Linked DNA regions of Homo sapiens: region 2 is linked to region 1. The links are contacts of gene promoters, found by promoter capture Hi-C in human tissues and cell types (Jung and others, 2019). All regions are on one chromosome and are shown on one strand. The core of a region is centred on a gene start or on the middle of the fragment in contact, and the rest is flanking DNA. Distances in the headings are between cores, read along the strand shown.

Region 1 (3,357 bases), core at 536-3,035:
AGGATGGGCCACGGGGTGACCAGTGAGATGGCTTTTTAAGTGTGCAGTGGTAAAAGTTCACGATAAAAGTGAAACCCAGGCCACCTCCCACACCACTCCTTTTAAGGGAGCTGGGCCCTAACGCCTGTCCACCCCTGTGTCCCCCATCCCCCACTAATTCCCCCCGCCCACTGCCCCGCTGCTTCTGCTTCTTGATCTCTCCCTTCTTTTCCAGCTCTTCCGGTTCTCCTAACCGTTGCCCTGGGAGTCAAGAAAACCCGGTGCCAGGACCGGCTCCGGCTGTGCTGGCACGATATCCCCTGACATCCGCAGGTCAGGGACTGTGGCGGAGCAGCGGTTAGGGCCAGCCACATTCCCAGGCCACAAGGGCTCCCTGCCTAGCAGCTGCTTGCATGCCCCTGGTGACGGGGAGCTCACCACCTACACACAGGCCTCACTGACACTTAGGCAGCTGGCCATGAACACTACGGTGTCTCACCAGGGACCAGCCTCAGAAAAGATCTGGAACAGCACCATTGGCTGGGGTTGGAAGACCTCAGTTTCTCCTCCTCCCAAGGGGCACAGAGAAGCTGCCCTGACTCCCTGCCAGGGGCTACTGCGGGAAAACACCTTCCTTCCTGCAGGCCCTGCCCAGACAAGCCCTGGCCCCACAGCCAGGAGGGTAGGCCCCCCTCACATGGCTGGTGTCAGTGATTCCGCCCTCGTCCAGCCCCCGTGGCCACAGACAAGGTTCCCCAAGGATAACGGGGCCAGGGGCCAGTCTGGGATAATTTAGGGCCCCAGCAGAGGGACTTTCCTTATTTCTTCTGTCACAGCTCAAAGTGGAAAATTGGAACTACCCTGCAAGTCAGCCTGAGGAATCTCCTGCCCCAGGAACAGATCCTGCCCACAGGCCCCCAGAAGAAAAGCACAGGCCAGCTGTGCAACTCCGGCTCCACGGCCCCCTTCCTGGCCTCAGTTTCTCCTCTGGCAATGCCCAGGCCTCACCTCTGCCTTGCCTGGAACCCCCGCTGGCATGTAGCGGCCTGGAAAGAGAAACCAGATGCGGACGTCCTTTGAAACCCTGAAACACAAGGCGCCTCCTGCTCCCCGGGAGGCCGGGCTGCCGAGGGCTGAGGCCCTAGACAGGGCAGGGTGTTCGAGCCTCAGTGTCCCCGTTTGTCAACGGCCTTTCCTGCCTCTTCTCCATGGCGGTGGGGTGAGATGGTGGTGGGAGGTGGGGCGGCGAAAAAGAAAATTCCAGGTCTCCGCAGGGGTCCAGAATGGCAGGACCCCCAAGCAGACCGCGCCCCTTCACCGGTTGGGGGTCTCGGCCCTCAGCGGCGGGGCGGGGCCTGGGGAGGGGCCAGGCGGCGTGGGGCGGGGCCTGTCGGGCGGGACCTGACAGCGTGGGGGCGGGACTTACCAGGAGGCGGGACGTGCCTAGGGCGCGAGCCCGTACTGGGGCCGGGCGGCGTGGGGCGGGGCCTCTCGGGAGGCAAAACCTGGAGGCTGGGGGCGGGGCCTGTCCGGAGTCGGGGCCTGCCTGGAGCGGGAGCCTGTGCCGGGGCCAGGAGGCGTGGGAACGGGGCCTATCAGGAGGCAGGACCCGGCGGCTGGGGGCGGGGCCTGTCGGGAGGTGGGGCCTGCCTGGGCGGGAGCCTATGCCGGGGCTGGGAGGTGTGAGGACGGGGCCTATCCGGAGGCAGGACTTGGCGGCTGGGGGCGGGGCCTACAAGGAGGCGGGGCCGGCGGGGGCGGGGCCGGGCTCGGCTTCTCTTAGGGACCCGGCACTCGTCGCCCTCAGTCCGGCTCAGCTGGGGCTGGGCGCCGTGGGTCTGGCGGTTCCGTAGCGGTCCCAGCGTCTGTCCCGCCGGCCGGGCGGTCGCGGCACAGCCGCGGGAAGGTGTCGGAGGGCGGTTCCGCCGCGCGGCGGGCGCGCCGCCCACATGGCGGCCATCAGGGCGCTGCAACAGTGGTGCCGGCAGCAGTGCGAGGGCTACCGCGACGTGAATATCTGCAACATGACCACGTCGTTCCGCGACGGCCTGGCTTTCTGCGCCATCCTGCACCGCCACCGGCCCGACCTCATGTAAGTCCTGCCTGGCGCCCTTTGATTCTTCTGCTGTTCGGCTGCGCGCTGACACGGGCGGGGAAACTGAGGCCCGGGCGGCTGGGGGATGGGGAGCCGAGGCGTGGGACTGGGCAGGCACAGCCCACCGTGCAGCCCCCCGAGGCTGTCCTCAGTGGCCTCAGTGTGCCCGGACACCGAATGCAGCTGGGCCAGAGCCATGGCATCCCCCGCCCGCCGGCTGAGTCAGACGTGACTCAGGGCGGCTCCTGGGCCCTGGCTTCAGTCCAGTCCCCCTCTGTGTCCCTGGGAAAGGCCAGCAGAGCTGCCTCTTTGGGCCCTCCGAGGCTCTCACTGCCCAGGGGCCTGGCCACCAGATGGGGTCCCTGGATAGCCCTCGTATGGGCACTGACCCTCCCCCAGCCTGTTCAGGCCCCTGGGGGGATGTGGCCAGGGCCACTGTGGGGGAGCGGCCAGTGCAGGGCAGGAAGCCCCCAGACCCCAGGTGCTGCTGCCAGCCGGGCCTCTGAGGCCCCGGGTGATAGGGCCCGAGATGGAGAACAGCCCCCATCTCTGGGAGCAGCAGGAGGTGGCAGGGGTTGAGGACTAGGCTGTCTCTCCCCAGGAGGGTCTTGGCGTGTGTAGCTGGGCAGCTGGCCCTGCCCGTTGCTGAATCTTGGCCCGAGCCTGGACCTGCTCCATTGTTTATTCACTCAGCAAACGCTCTTTGGCTAAATGACTGGGACCAGGCTTGCTGGGACAGAGATCTGTGTGTCGGGGCTGGGGGCCAGACGCTCAGGAAGGGGGGCCCTCAACGGCCACCTGCAGCCCAGGCACCTTCTGGGCAAAGCGTTCTCCTGAGTGTGTTTTTGGTGGGAAGGTCTCGGGGTTGGGAGGAGCCACAGGCAGCACCTGGGGCCTCTGTCAGGCCGCAGCTGTGCAGACCAGAGAACCGAGGCTAAGAGGAGGGGTCCTTGCTCAGGTCACACAGCCCCAGCCCGTTGCGCAGATCCGGGGCTCCTCCCCTGTGCCCCTGGACACTGTCCTGCCAGTCCCACTCTCTGCAGGAAGCTGGGGTCTTGAGCAACAGCCTCGGCCCCTGCTCTGAGGTTGTGACATGCATTCGTGGAGCCACCAGGGGCTTCCATTTGGCGTTTGGGCAGCAGCCGCTCTCCCTCGCCAGGAACGTGCCTCTGTTGCCCTTGCAGGCAGAAGATGCTGGGCACAAGGTGCGTGCTTCCACATGGAAAGCCTGACGCTGAGCTTTGAAGGAGAGGGCCAGGGACCTGGAGACTGGGAGAAGGACC
Region 2 (3,357 bases), core at 230-2,729, 310 kb after region 1:
GTGTGTGTCCCGACTTCCCCTTTTTGTAAGGATGCTGGTCATGTGATCCCACAGTCGTGACCTCTGAAAAGACCCTGTGTCCACAGAAGGTCACACTCTGAGGTCCCGAGTCTAGGGCTCCAGCATGTCTTGTGGGGACATGATTCAACTCGTAATGCTAATGTTTGTCAAATCGAGAAGCATCTGTATTTGCCTCAACTGTTGCACCTGGTGGTGTCTGGCGTCCATCCCTGGGCCAGGCCAGTGGTAGTTGCTTACCTGCAGGAAGCTGTGTGGGTTCTTGCGGTCAGCACATGGAGGCTGAGCTGATCCATCCACCCTCTCTGTAGGTGCTCACCCATGACAGTCTCTGAATCCAGGCCGTTGGGAGATTTCCTCACCCTGGCTCCTGGCGGGCTGGCCCAGCGACTCGGGTACTGGTTCACCCGGCTCATGTGAACGCAATTTCGTCTGTGTGGGGTGCTGCAGCTCTTGGTTGGTGAACACGGAAAGGTTGCTGTGTGTAACTGCACAGTGTGACGCGATGCTCCAGTGGTGCGACTTCGTCAGGATGGATGAAGGACACAGGACTGGGACCCCAAGTTACAGAAGCAGCTCGCTCCAGCACAACCTTTCGGCAGCAGCAGCATCATACAGCTGGTTTCTGAAACACCTTTTCTGCCCTCCAAGATCCTCTGACATGATCAACATTCCTGCATCATCAAGACAAACCTGAAAAGAGCTGTTCTTTGTTCTTTTTGGTGGAAAGTGATGAGGTCCTTCCCGTTTGCACTGCCGTGTGGGTTATTTCCACTCTAGGTAACTTCCGCCTTCAGGTACTCCCCATACTTCTAATGGCCCAGCAGCACCTCCGGGCCATCTTCACGGGAATCCCCAGCTTCAATGCTGGCTGGCTTTGCTTTTTTTTTTTTAAAAGGGATGAAGTCTTGCTCTATTGCCCAGGCTGGAGTGCAGTGGCACAATCTCAGCTCACTGCCACCTCTGCCTTCCAGGTTCTAGCAATTCTCCTGCCTCAGCCTCCCGAGTAGCTGGGATTACAGGCACCAAACTGCCATGCCCGGCTAATCTTTTATATTTTAGTGAAGATGGTTAGCCTGAAACCTTGAAACTTCCCCACTGAAATACACAAACTAGGCCGGGCGTAGTGGCTCACACCTGTAATCTCAGCACTTTGGGAGGGCAAGGTGGGTGGATCACCTAAGGTCAGGAGTTCAAAACCAGCAAACACCAGACAGCTCACTTGCGCTCTTCACCATGTCACCTCTGTAACGATGTGACTATCTGGCCAAGAAGGGGGAAGGACATCCACCTGCCTGGCCGAGGGTTCTTGTCCAGCGGCGGCCACAGGTGCTACTCGCATTGTTTGAGGGCACAGCTGCGTGCCCGTTCCTGACCTCCAAGGGGCTGGGACACTGTGTGAGAGAAGGTGTGTCTTCCTGGACCACTTGTCCCTGCCACGGTCAACTTCTTAAAACAGGCACAGTTCAGCCAGGCGCAGTGGCTCACGCTTGTAATCTCAGCACTTTGGGAGGCGGAGGCAGGCGGATCACCTGAGGTCAGGAGTTTGAGACCAGCCTGGTCAACATGGTGAAACCCCATGTCTACTAAAACAAAAATTAGCCAGGTGTGGTGGTGGTACACGCTTGTAATCCTAGCTACTCAGGAGGCTGAGGCAGGAGAATCACTTGAACCTGGGAGGCGGAGGTTGCAGTGAGCCCAGATTGTGCCACTGCACTCCAGCCTGGGCAACAGAGCAAGACTGAATCTCAAAAAAAAAAAAAAAAAAGGCACAGTTGTCAGCAGCCAGCAAGCCCGAGAGCTGCTTTGCACCTGGATCTATTTCAGCACCAACAAGAAAGTTGCAAAATGCCACCTGTTGAAGATGGCTCTGTCCAGTGATGAAGCAGTGGAAACTTCCAGAAGTGACTTAAAACTACAATGGCAGGAACTAGGGCTTCCACAAGTGCCAGAGATTACAGGAGACTGGGTTTTATAGGTTTGAAGAGCAGAAAGCCAAAACGGGAGGGAAGGGGGGTAGTGAGGTGCACAGTCCTTTGTGGCTCAGATGACAGATGCGGCCTTCGTGGCCTGACACTTTCCACCACCGTCTGATTTTGTGAAGTGATGAACACGGGTAACGTAAATACTGGTGTTAGATTTATACTGACAGCCGCTCTGCTCATCAAGAGTGCAGTGATTTCCTGGGAACTTAGGGGGTGTCAGGGAATAAGGTGAAACAAAATTCCCCCAAGTTCTGTCCTGTTCTGAACTGCCCTGGCCATCCAGCTGTGCCCACCAGATGTCCCGCTGAGACAGTTCACAAAAACACAAGCCACTGCCTTTTTTTTTTCTGCTTTCACCATCTAAAAATGTAACGGGAAGGGTTTGTATTCTGTTGGCGTTCTGCAAAAAGGTGGTCAGACCTGCAGTCAGGGGAACGATGTTTCTGTCGATGACGGACCGTGTATATGTTGGTGATCGCAGAACATACTGTATTTTCACTATATCTTTTTTTTTTAATCTGACAAACTTTTTTGCTTTTATTTTAATTGACATAATTGTACATATTGATGGGGTACATTGTGGTATTTGGAGGAGTTTGAGACCAGCCTGGCCAACATGATGAAACCCTGTCCCTACTAAAAATACAAAAATTAGCCGGGCGTGGTGGTGCATGCCTGTAATCCCAGCTACTTGGGAGGCTGAGGCAAGAGGATCGCTTGAACCCGGGAGGCAGAGGTTGCAGTGAGCAGAGATCGTGCCATTGCACTCCAGCCTGGGTGATAGAGCAAGACTCCATCTCAAAAAAAAAAAAAAAAACTTAAGAACAAGCTAGTCACCCTGCAGTCCCACAGAACACTGGGATGGAATCCTCCCAGCAAGCTGGACCGCACCACGCCTAGGTTTGGAAGCACAAACACGCAGCGCCGTGCCGCAGTGGCCTACAGCATTCAGCGCAGTAGCACTCTGCACGCATTTGTAGCCTGGGAGCCACAGGCTATGCCCTACAGCCTGGGTGTGGAGGAGGCCGCACCATCGAGCTCTGTGTAAGTCCCTGTAGGATGCTTGCACGACAATGCAATCACCTGGCCGTGCACATCCCTGACGGTGGGTGACATGTGACCGTTGCTATGCTTATTTCATGGTGTCTGTCCTAGGCCGGCGGTTCCCAAGCCCTAGCCTGTGTCAAAACACAGGGCTCCTTACGGGAGGGTGCTGGACCCCACCCCGAGGCCCTGGTTCTGTGGTCTGAGGTGGACTCAGGTTTACACCTGGAGCTGCCCGGGTGACACGTCTGGTCTGGGACTGCACTTGGACAAGCCACTTCCCTGCGTCTGCAGCACCTCTGGCCTCGTG

What was found. The method cuts DNA at HindIII sites, captures the fragments that hold promoters and counts their contacts. A contact is called where the count stands out against the background at its distance.
Region 2: a contact is called between a fragment that was not itself captured here and the fragment with the promoter of MICALL2 in region 1, in 1 of the 25 tissues and cell types used here (lymphoblastoid cells).

Annotation. Positions count from the first base shown.
Region 1 is chr7:1,457,898-1,461,254 of GRCh38, reverse strand. It overlaps MICALL2 (MICAL like 2), which reads left to right and starts at 1,785. Exons shown (of 17, transcript NM_182924.4): 1 at 1,785-2,071. The coding sequence starts at 1,929. MICALL2-DT (MICALL2 divergent transcript) reads right to left here and starts at 1,336. Exons shown (of 2, transcript XR_001745046.2): 1 at 988-1,336. RefSeq lists enhancers at 28-322, 1-410, 411-962, 2,386-3,108, 3,109-3,357 and a silencer at 1,293-2,012. The HindIII fragment of the contact is 47,250 bases long and covers 1-3,357 here.
Region 2 is chr7:1,149,317-1,152,673 of GRCh38, reverse strand. It overlaps a transcript of ZFAND2A not described here. Among named protein-coding and RNA genes, the nearest start is that of ZFAND2A, 9.2 kb to the left of the region's middle. The HindIII fragment of the contact is 5,994 bases long and covers 1-3,357 here.